Regions from separate parts of the Homo sapiens genome. Here region 2 is linked to region 1. The links are contacts of gene promoters, found by promoter capture Hi-C in blood cells and fetal thymus (Javierre and others, 2016). All regions are on one chromosome and are shown on one strand. The core of a region is centred on a gene start or on the middle of the fragment in contact, and the rest is flanking DNA. Distances in the headings are between cores, read along the strand shown. Region 1 holds the start of SRP19 (signal recognition particle 19). Region 2 overlaps ARRDC3-AS1 (ARRDC3 antisense RNA 1).

Region 1 (6,077 bases), core at 2,587-5,086:
TTTTCAGATTTATTAATGATAGAATCATTAGATATTATAGATATTAACAGACCTCAAGGACCTCTAGGATCTGAAATGGCAATTAACATCCAACGATTTAATAATTTTATATTCTTAACCTGGGAGCAATGACAGACTTCCAGAGGTTTATAAAATGTTCACACAACAATTTTTTTGAAAAATGTTTAGTGGGTCTCATTACATTTTCAAAGAGGTCATTCACCTCAAAGAAATTAGAACTACTGCTTCTCTCCATGAGCAGTAGTCCTGTCTTTAAATTAATCTTCAGAATGCAAATTCTGACTTTTACCTTTCAGTTTTAGAACCTTTTTTGTGTTGTGTAGGAGAAACCTATCCCTGAGCCCCACTGATTCATTTAAACAAGCTTACGTGATGGGAACTGTACAAGGCAGAGGCTCCCATCTTCCTGTTTGAGCTGGACCCGGACTCTGCCTCTGTATTGGACATCACGATTCCATTCTCTAGAGTACATTTTATTTTTCTAACATAAACGAAACAAAAGAAAAACAGGACTTAAGAAAGTTATTACATCAATTAGATGAGTATGGAAAATAGTGAAGAACCACGTCATACCTCAAGAAATACGTTAAGTCCAACTGCTGAACATACATCTTGAATCTCTGTAGCTGTAGGATTTTCAACAGCCTGAACAGTTAAAAACATAAACACTAAATATATGTGCTTTAAGTGGACACTGCCATAGTGTTGGGTAAATAATTTCAAATACTATAATCAAACAAGTACCAAAACCCTAGGTTTCCTTTTTCATTAAGTACAGATGCTTCTATTGTAATTTTAAAAATTCCTAGGAATAACACTAATGCGTAACTGTGTGCCCATCTCCCCTCCAACAGAACATAAACTTCTGAGGGCAGGGGCTTTGTTTTGTTAACCAGTGTATTCCCCAGCACCTAGCATGGTACTCTCAACATAGTAGGTGCTCAATGATTATTGACTGCTTAAACAATTACACATACAAACACTTTAGAAAACTGCTAGTATCTACTAAAGCTGAATATATGCATTCTCTATGGCCCTGCAATTCCATTCCCAGATGCGTTCTACAAAAAAGCAAAAATATGTTCTCTAAAAAACATCTATTTATAATAGCCTCAAACTATTAATAGAAATAATCCAATTTTCCATCCAGAGTAGAAAGGGCCAGGTGTGGTGGCTCACACCTGTAATCCCAGCAGATCACTTCAGCTCAGGAGTTTGAGACAAGCCTGGACAACATGGAGAAATCTCATTGCTACAAAAAAATACCAAAGTAGCCGGACATGGTGGCATGTGCCTGTAGTCCCAGCTACTCAGAAGGCTGAGGTTGGAGGATGGCTTGAGTCCAGGAGGTGGAGCCTGCAGTGCGCTGAGACTACACTGCCGCACTCCAGCCTGGGTGACAGAGCCAGACCCTGTCTCTTAAAAAAACAAACAAAAAAGAAGGTAGAAAAGACTTTGGCATACTCACACCATGCGATACTATAGAGGAGACAGGGCAGTAGTTTTGAGCAGGGAAATTCTGTCCTCAGCCTCCCTACCCCTACCCACACACAAAAGACATCTAGCAATGCTTGGAGACATTTTTGATTGTCACAACTAGGGGATGGGGGGCTGGAGGGGGCTGACCTGTCATCTAGTGGGTAGAGGCCAGGGATACTGCTGAACATCTTAAAATGCACAGAACAACCCCCAACAACAATTATCTAGCTCAAATCGGCAATGGTGCTGCTATTGACAAACCCTGTTATAGAGCAATGAAAATTCAACTACATTCAAATATGTAGGTAAATCTCAAAAGCTTAAAGTTCAGTGAAAAAAAGATACAAAATTACATAGTGTGTAATTCCATTTACAGAAAACTGAAAAAGCAGCAAAAGTAATCTATGGTGTTGAAGTCATAACGGTGGTCATCCTGGTATTTTTGAGCATATGCGGAGGCGACAGTGACTGAGAGGGAACATAAAGCAATCTTCCTGGATGCTTGTAGTGTTTTCTTTTTTGAGTGCTTGTTACCACCCAGATGTACTCATCATGGGAGAATTCACTGCATCAAACCTAGGTGTCTTAAATCTGTCATATTACAAAATACAAATGACACTTTAATAAAACTCAACAGGGCTGAACTTTCTGCATGTCTTCTTCACACACTTAAAAAAATCTCAACTACATTCTGAACATTATTAATGTATCGTACAATGTCATAATTTTGATTTCCTATATCAAGGGAAACACCGTCATAACCTTTGTTTTAAAAACATGTGAACTCTACACTCTGCCCCCACTCCTTTACAAACAAAGGCTCATTAAGAGACGTTAAAAAAATATCCCTTCAGCTATGAATTAATGCCTTTCTGGTTTCACCAACACTGAGGAACGCACCCCAATTCTTGGCTGTGTTCTCAAGCCCTAAATAAATGCAGTGAAGAGAACCCCCTGCGGCTCTAACAAGATTACGTGGCCCGACCAGGATGACACCCCCCATTCCCTCGAGGATCAAGGTGCCAGCCATCTTGCTTACCTTACTTATGGGGATTCGCCTTCCCTCTGCGATGGTCTTCTTATTATTTAAATAAGCAGGATAGATACAAATAAACCTGCCATAGACAATAGCATAAGTGGTATCACTAGAGCAGTAAGAGGCAGGAGAAAAGGGTCGGGTGGCAGGGAACCAAAGGCCAATTCATGCTGCCTAGATATCAGATGGGTACTCCCTTTTCAACCCCTCCTTTTTCTGCGTGGCAGTTGAAAAATCAAAGTACCTCGGAGTGGTCCCCTCGAGCAACTAATCAGACTGGCCGCGGGCCTACTCCTCTTTCTGATTGATCCCCCTCCCTCAACCAATCAGACTGGCACAGGTCAATGGGAAACGTCTAGAGGGTATTTAAACCCTAGAAAATTCTGTAACCAACAGCTCTTGGGTAGCTTGCTGGAGCCGGCTCCCACCCTGTGGAGTGTACTTTTGTTTAAAATAAATCTGCTTTCGCTGCCTTGCTTTGTGTGTTTTGTTCAATTCCTTATTCAAAACGCCAAGAACCTGGACAACTACACTCAACAGATAACAAGTATTTTCAAAAATACATTCTTTCGGTCCGTGGTAGTCGTCATCATTGCTGGTACACCTATGCTATTATTTGCTTAATGTTATTTCTTTAAATTACCTCACTTTAACTTATTTAAAAATAAACTTTATCCACTACCTTGGATGGAAAAAAACCACAGGAATAGAAACAAAACGACTTGGGTAACTGTTACATTAGACAGAGCAGCCCGTCAAAAGTTCCTGAGAATGGGCCCGCCCTCTTATATAAAGTGTCCGAGGTATTAAAAACCTTAAAATTTCACAAATGAGCCTTTCTGAACGCAACAATACTTAAAAAGAACACATTTCTCACACTGTGATTATATTACTTGATATCATGTCCACGTAGCACCCAAAATCCTTGTCTCGCGTACAGATAAACACTAGGCTACCTATGGTCGGAATTTCAGGAGCCCTGAGAAGAGCCTGGTGGCTGCTGCAGGATTCAGAAAAACGAGCTGCCAGGGAGAGGCGCGGGGCCCGTACAGAGCGAGTTGGATCAGCTAGGCCATTCTGGAGGCCGCGGAGCGGAGAAGCGCGGTGTAGCACCTGCAGCACCACAGCAAGCCCCTTCCTTTCGGAGGACCCACCGCCTCAGAACCCACCTGTCCTGGTCGGCCGGGGACCGCGCGGCAGCGCAAGCCATCTTCACAAGAGTCTCAACAACCCAGGAGCCGCAGGGAGAAACCCGGCAGAAACCCGGGAGGAACCCGGCTCTGAGTTTCCGAGACAGCCCGCTTTTCCGCCGGAAGTCCTGCCCAAGAAATGGTTCCGCGTCCGCGATTTCTCATCGCCTGTTTGTTCCGGCACCTGTCGCTCGGCGCCAGGATCTCTAGTCTCTGACGTGGCATGAAGACTTCCCTTCTCGCGAGAGAATCATGAAAGCTTCTCATTCCTTTCCCAAGCCGGGAAGACCATGTGGGGCGCATGCACCGCCACTAAAAAGGGTTTAACTTCGACCCTCCCTCGTTTCCAGTTTCTCAGCGAGTATGGGTGGTACTAGCTACTCTCTGTTAAGGGGCGAAGACTGTGCCACGAGGGGAATCTGTGTGGTTCAGGATGCAAATATATGTTAGACAGGGAAGGAAATACTCCTTACGTTTAATTTTTCTCCGTTCCTGGGCTCTAGAGCTTGCTTTCAGTTTGGCAAAATGGATTTTTGTAGTGGTAGAACTAGCAAAGTTATAGACGTTGTGTTTCAGTGTGCTCTGCGTTAGAAACTTAGCTATTCACCTTTTAGGCCGGGTGCGGTGGCTCACGCCTGTATCCCAGCACTTTGGGAGACTGAGGCAGGTGGATCATGAGGTCAGGAGTTGGAGAGCAGCCTGGCCAACATGCTGAAACCCCGTCTGTACTAAAAATACAAAAATTAGCCGAGTGTGGTGGCACACGCCTGTAATCCCAGCTACTCGGAGGCTGAGACAGGAGAATCACTTGAACCCAGGAGGTGGAGGTTGCAGTGAGCTGAGATCACACCACTGCACTCCAGCCTGCGTAACAGAGCAAGACTCCGTCTAGGAAAAACGAAACAAAACTATTCACCTTTTAAAACTTCTGAAGGATACCATGTGCCATCACTACAGGCATACTTCATTATTGCACTTCACTTGCTGCTGCGAGTAGATACTGCCTTTTTACAAATGGAAGGTTTTTGGCAAATCCGCCTGAAAGAAGTTGCTTGGTGCCATTTTTCCAGCAGCGTATACTTTGTGTCACATTTGGTAATTTTTGCAATATTTCAAACCTTTTCATTATTTCTGTTATGGTGATCGGTGATCAGTGATGTTTGCTGTTACTATTGTAATAGTTTTAAGGCCGGGTGCGGTGGCTCACGCCTGTAATCCCAGCACTTTGGGAGGCCGAGGCAGGTGGATCACGAGGTCAGGAGATAGACACCATCTTGGCCAACATGGTGAAACCCCATCTCTACTAAAATATAAAAAATAAGCCAGGCATGGTGGCACAGGCCTTTAGTCCCAGCTACTCGGGAGGCAGGGGAATCTCTTGAACCCAGGAGGTGGAGGTTGCAGTGAGCCAAGATCACACCACTGCACTCCAGCCTGGCGACAGTGCAAGACTCCGTCTCAAATAATAATAATGTTTTGGGGCACCATGAACCATGCCCAGATAAGATGGGGAACTTAATGGATAAATGTTGTGTATGTTTTAACTGTTCGACCAACTGGCCATTTCCCATCTCTCTCCCTCTTCTGGAGTCCCTATTCCCTGAAACACAACAATGTTGAAATTAGGCCAGTTAGTAACCCTACAATGGCCTCTAAGTATTCAAGTGAAAGGAAGAGTCACACGTCTCACATGTCAAAAGATGGAAATGATTAAGCTTAGTGAGGAAGGCATATGTAAGCCAAGATAGGCTGAAAGCTAGGCCTCTTGGCACCTAACAGCCAAGTTGTAAATACAAAGACAAAATTCTTGAAGGAATTAAAAGGAAATTACTTCAATAAACACACAAATGATCAGAAAGCAAAACAACCTTATTGCTGATATGGAGAAAGTTTTAGGGGTTTGGATAGAAGCTCAAACCAGTCACAACATTCCTTTAACCCAAAGCCTAATCCGAGCAAGGCCCTAACTCCCTTCAATTCTGTGAAGGCTGAGAAAGGTGAGGAAGCTTCAGAAGTGGGAAGCTAGTAGAGGGTGGTTCAGGAGGTTTAAGAAAGAATCCATCTCCATAACATATAACATAAAAGTGCAAGGTGAAGCAGCAAGTGCTGATAGAGAAGCTGCAGCAAGTTATCCAGAAAATGTAGCTAATATCATTGACGATGATCAATGATTAGCTAGTATCATTTAGTGGCTACACTAAACAACAGATTTTTCAATGTAGACAAAACAGTCTTCTATTGGAAAAAGATACCATCTAGGATGTAGCACCCAAAATCCTTGTCCCTTTGAGAGAAGTCAATGTCTGGCTTCAGAGCTGCCCCATTTAGTGGCTACACTAAACAACAGGTTT
Region 2 (6,052 bases), core at 2,470-4,969, about 21 Mb after region 1:
AGGTTATGAGATCAATCATACCCCAAACCACGGCATCACGCAGTATACACATGTAACAATCCTGCACATGTACCTCTGAATCTAAAATGAAAGTTAAAATTTAAATAAATAAGAAAATAAAAACAAAAATAGAATGGGTTCTCAGGTTGCTTAAAGGCAGGGAGTTGACTTAATGACTTTAATGGGCCTCTTCAGCCCTTTCATCCCTGGGAGAGTAAAATATTTCAAAGTAGATATGCTATGCTATATAAGCTACATATCCTATATAAAATTATCAAAATGTTGGCCAGGAACGGTGGCCCACACCTGTAATCCCAGCATCTTTTGAGGCCAAGGCAGGCAGATCACTTGAGGCCAGGAGTTCAAGACCAGCCTGGCCAACGTGGTGAAACCCTGCCTCTACTAAAAATACAAAAATCAGCAGAGTATGGTGATGACGGCCTGTAATCCCGGCTTGAATCCAGGAGGCAGAGGTTGCAGTGAGCTGAGATTGCGCCACTGCACTCCAGCTGCGCAACAGAGCTGTCTCAAAATAAAATAATCAAATGTTTGAAAAAAAATTTAAAAAAAATTTTTTTGAGACAGGGTCGCACTCTGTCACCTAGACTGGAGTGCAATGGCACGAGCTCAGCTAACTGCAGACTCAACCTTCCAGGCTCAAGTGATCCTTCTACCTCAGCTTCCTGAATAGCTGGGACTAGAGGCACATGCCACCACACCTGGCTAATTTTTGTATTTTTTGTAGAGACAGGGTCTTGCTATGTTGCCCAGACTGGTCTCAAACCACTGGACTCAAGCAATCCTCCCACCTTAGCCTCTCAAGTTCTGGGATTACAGGCATGAGCTACCACACTCAGCCAGAAAATATTTTATTACAGCAAATAAAATTTTACCCTCATTATATAAAGTTGTGCATAGTCAAAAGTCAAAATTTATAAAGTAGTTCAGAAAAGAAATTTAGCATTCCTAATTCTTTCTGTAGACCAGATGCCATTTGAGCTTAGATGAATAAACTTTACCAACTCATCTTCTACATGATAATATGCACTGCCATAGCTTCACTGGCAATGCTCTTCTTTAGTTGTACATCTGGATGGAAATACACCAAAATGTTAACAGTGGTGTCTCTGAATGGACGGACAGTAGAATTATGGGTGATTTTCTTTTAATCAAGAAATAAAATATAACAGATTAAATGGTGTTCACATAACACAAATTATACTATTTATTAATGAAGGATATCAGAATCCAAATTTGATAGTGAGTTTCATCACAAAATCCATAACATATTTAAAAGTCTATTAAGTATGAAGAACATAACAAACATAATATGCGTTATGTTTGTAATAGCTCTCAAAGCTAAAAAACAAATACTACTCATTTTGCTAATAATACAGCAAGTCTTCTGTCCAGTCTGCATGCCAAATTTGCTGCACTGTGACGATATTAAAGAGTTAAGTCAGAGTTACAAAATCTTGAAATACAGAATTAAGACCAAAGGAAAAAAATCCCCCTTAGTCCCATAGCACTCGAGCCTATCAGCTGCTAGTTAAAATAGATTAAGCATAGATTTCATATTTTTCTTTATGAAACAGATTCTGACTACTGGTAGGTTTTTTTTTTTTTCAACCAAACACCAAAACTTCCAGTTGAGATGGCTTCCTTTTTTTTTAAAAATAAAAATATTGAGCATGTTGATATAATATGCAAAAAACTCCAAACTTGGCAGTAATCTTAACATATCTCCTCAATATCATACAACTTGACAGCAATGATCATTTATCAGTCTTTGATAGAGTTCTTGAGATTGAGTTCAAACTTTAATATATTAAGGTGAAAGAGCCATTTGACTCAAAAGCTAATATAAAAAGAGATTCCTACTTAAGCTCTGAAGAAGCAATGAAAGGGGAAGGGAAGCTAGTTATTCAGTCTAGTTGGAATTTTACTCAGTAGTGCCAACTGCATCTAGTGGAGGGATTAGAAAAAAGCAAAGGAGATAACATAGTAGTGGGATGTTATTCTGGGCACCAAAAGCACATGTAACTGCATACTGGCAACAGTGAGACAAGCTAACAAAGGGGACAGAAGATGTACTTGACAGGATTATAGAGAGTTAGCAGATGAGTAGGAGGAGATGGCATATGAGACGTAGGCTGGGGAGAAGTAGGAAAGAGCCTTGATGGTAAAGACGAATAGTTTAAATATAATACAAAATACAATAATGGCCCAGTGAAGCAAGCTGAGAAGCCCAAGATAATGTCTACAGTACAGCATTTCAAGCTGTCTAAGGAGTAGCTATTTAGACAAAAAATCTGAAAGGGGGAAGTTATGAAAGCGACAAGAGAAAACATTCAAAATTTGGTCCAAGCGTTTTTGTTTTTGTTTTTGTTTTTAAGAATTGAAAAGATAAAGCGAGACCAGGCGCAAGCGGCTCATGTCTATAGTCCCAGCACTTTGGGAGGCCAAGGCGGGTGGATCTCTTGAGGCTAGGAGTTCAAGACCAGCCTGGCCAACATGGTGAAACCCTGTCTCTACTAAAAATACAAAAAGTAGCCAGAGGTGGTGGTGCGTGCCTGTAATCCCAGCTGCTCCGGAGGCTAAGGCAGGAGAATCGCCTGAACCCGGGAGGCAGAGGCCGCAGAGAGCCTAGATTGTGCCACTGCACTCCAGCCTGGGCAACAGAGTGAGACTCCATCTCAAAAAATAAAAATATAATGAAAATGGCAGCTGGTAAGAATTTCTTGGAAATTTGCCAGTTACCTAAGTATTTAAGAAGACACAGTAAAAAGAAAATTTTAAAAATAGCAAAATAAATAATAAAGACAACTATTCAAAAGATCCTGAAAGCTTCAAACACAAAGAATAATGTACTACACAGTGACAGGAATGAAACATTTAATATTTTAAAACAATTTTCCAAACTACAAATAAATTTCTTAGACTTCTTTTTTATTAAATGCAATTCTGGTGTATTTATATAGCTAATTCTTATTTTTTCTGAAATGAGTTATATTCTAATTAAATAAATTTTACTAAAAAAATCCGAATTCAGCTGTTCACTAACCCTTAATAATTTTTAACATAAATGTAGACACAAATGTGCAATGAATTTATGTATTCATTATGGACTACACTTTTAAATCCATTCCTTGCTCAGTGGTTTTCGAATGCTTATTAAATATCATTGACCTTATGCTGAGGAAAAGCTGTCATTCTAGGAAATTCACCACTTCTACCACTAGGTGGAGAAAAAACACAAGTAGTATCTGTAATCAAAGCTAGTACAAGGCCCCAGGTACTTTACCTAGAATTTCCACCAGGTGTCAACCAAGAGGTAGGGAAAAGATAAGACTGTTTTTCCCACTTAAATATGCAAATTTATAATTTTATGCATAGCGATCTAAACTCTGAAATAAATGGCCTGCTCATTAATTGTCTAGTTTGCATATTTATACTCTTTATATATTGCTGTTGAGTCCAAGATATTGCCTTGTCAACTAAAATCCAACCCCCAAAAGCTTAGTTTCTTTTGAAATAAAACAGCAAGACCAATAAGTTTAGTTTATTGTGACTCATAGGCTCAACCTATCCATATACACTACGCAAAAGAATCTAAAACGTTTAGACACGGACAGCCAAAAATCTTCCAAGGTATTTTTGGTCATACATATATATATAGAGAGAGCACCAGATTCATATTTTTTCTTTCTACATTTCTCTTGTAAGGCAGTTCTGTTGATTGCCAGTAATCTAGATGAGTTTATGCTGTTATGCTCTGAATCCCAGTGTGATGTGACGAAAGCACTGCTATTTTTTACCAAACATTCACAATAAAAAGAGAAATGTACCTATATTTAAGATGTATCATGAGAATTACTACGTTAAATGGTCCAAGGCTCTCGGCCGAAAATTAAAGCTTCACACAGTTAAATCCCTATTTATATACCAAATCATGCTTTTTAAAAACAATTTTATGCGCTTCACTAATTTCTAACAAAGATTTTCCGATTCTGTTGCAAACAATATGTCAGCTAAACCACTATGTCATATGCCTTTTATAAGGTAGTACTTTTTTAGGCCGAACTCTATTCTTATTCCTCTGGACACAGGAGTTGTAATCATGTCTTACTCTGCAAATCTAGCCGTAGGTGGTGTCTTAAAAGGACTTTTTCTTCCTTCGAGGAAGTGATCAAGCTTCCCCCAGCCCCCACCCGTGTCATCCTGGAAACAACTTGGTTGTTTTTCGGTGCTAATTAAGCAATGTAGGAGAAAGAAGTTGAGGAGACAGCAAAGCCTATTGATTACATTGTACTTGCTTCTCTACCTCGCTCTTCAAAGGATTAAGGTTCCTTTGACCTCGACTGAGTTCATTTCCAACCTGCCTACAAAGTACTGGTTTAAAAAAAAAAAATCCAAGCAAAGTATGCTCTTGTCTATGAACAATATTTCTTGTCCGGTTTTATTACGTTTTCTTTGGAAATTCGTTAGATTATGCTCAACAATCGGCCGCTTGCCCAACCGGTTTCTCCCTTCCCCCATCTCTCTTCACACATCACTTTTTCCTCCTCCCATCCAGGCAGTTGGTAAAACGCTGCAGTGCCGGTAACGCACGCTTCGGGCTGGTCGCTGCAGTTTATCCTAACTTGGCTTTGCAAACTCCCCACCCAGCCCTTGTACCCTCGCACCCCACTCTGCCATTATCTTTCTAGTAGAGTGCGCTCGGTAACGGGCTCCAGATAGCACGTCGAGGGTATACGGTAGCCTGCCTACCAATAGGAGCCCACAATGAAGAGAAGTCAGGTTCAGCCGGCCAGCAGCTCCAGTATCTCCTTCCCCTAGCTCTACACCTACTGTACCCGGGAGCGAGCGGGCAAGGGAGCGAGCGCGGCGCGGCGCGGCGCGGGAGGGGGCGCGCAGGGAGGGCGGACAGCAGCCGCGGCCTGCGCCTGCGCACTGGGGTTGTTTTTCACAAAGCTGCTCTTAAAGTGAGCTGGCAGCTTTTAGCCGCCCGTCTTTGTAAGGAGACCACTGAGACGAGCGGGAGCGCGGAGCAGCAGCCTCTGCTGCCCTGACTTTTTAAGAAATCTCAATGAACTATTTGTAGAGAATCACTGATCCGGCCTGCAAGCATTTTGCACGGCAAAAATATCGATCAGTGTTAAGTGAAGATCACATTTTATATGCGATCTTGACTTTTTTGTCTTACATTATATTTTTATAGATTTTGTTATAAACATGGTGCTGGGAAAGGTGAAGAGTTTGACAATAAGCTTTGACTGTCTTAATGACAGCAATGTCCCTGTGTATTCTAGTGGGGATACCGTCTCAGGAAGGGTAAATTTAGAAGTTACTGGGGAAATCAGAGTAAAATCTCTTAAAATTCATGCAAGAGGACATGCGAAAGTACGCTGGACTGAATCTAGAAACGCCGGCTCCAATACTGCCTATACACAGAATTACACTGAAGAAGTAGAGTATTTCAACCATAAAGACATCTTAATTGGGCACGAAAGAGGTAAGTTTTTGTTATTCATAAGTCATTGGACTCATTTTCTTTGGAAACGTACCTTTTCAGTTTTCTGAATTAACGTGATTCTACTCCTAGCATAACTAAGCAGTTTGAGAAAGGTTAGCAAAGTTGGAAGGTTTGGATTCTCCTTGACGTTCATCGTGTGTTAAGCCGTAATGCATGCAGGCATCTGCAAAGTGACTGCAAACTACACTTATTCAGCTACCTCTGTACCCGGCTCGGTCTGTGCCACACGCACTTGTAGTCCATTTGCACCTTACTTATAAATTCTGTTTGAATCCAATTCAGTCGTTTTACTAATATATTTTCAAATGAATTGGTAAAAGCTGCAGTCTTAGATTTTTGCCCTTTTACTTGCAACCTAAGATGTAAAAACTGAACTTCGATCAAGAAATGTAATAACATTTTTAAGAGACTTAATGGGTGTGTTTCATTTTTAATATTGGAATGCAAAAGACTTTAAATAATTGATGACTGTTCTTTCATAAAAGATTTCTGTGGCTTATTTTGACATATGGTATC

Evidence for each region. Contacts are between HindIII fragments. The CHiCAGO score rates a contact against its expected background, and 5 or more counts as called.
Region 2: a contact is called between a fragment that was not itself captured here and the fragment with the promoter of SRP19 in region 1, in 1 of 17 cell types (fetal thymus). The highest score is 8.6, in fetal thymus.

Annotation. Positions count from the first base shown.
Region 1 is chr5:112,859,046-112,865,122 of GRCh38, reverse strand. It overlaps SRP19 (signal recognition particle 19), which reads right to left and starts at 3,836. Exons shown (of 5, transcript NM_003135.3): 1 at 3,706-3,836; 2 at 2,540-2,615; 3 at 595-666; 4 at 391-502. The coding sequence starts at 3,746. RefSeq lists enhancers at 3,539-3,838, 3,939-4,018, 3,777-4,071. The HindIII fragment of the contact is 2,166 bases long and covers 1,822-3,987 here.
Region 2 is chr5:91,382,276-91,388,327 of GRCh38, reverse strand. The region is part of intron 1 of ARRDC3-AS1 (ARRDC3 antisense RNA 1); the gene reads right to left. It overlaps ARRDC3 (arrestin domain containing 3), which reads left to right and starts at 5,011. Exons shown (of 8, transcript NM_020801.4): 1 at 5,011-5,515. The coding sequence starts at 5,236. RefSeq lists enhancers at 4,245-4,544, 4,424-4,941 and a silencer at 4,795-5,104. The HindIII fragment of the contact is 398 bases long and covers 3,521-3,918 here.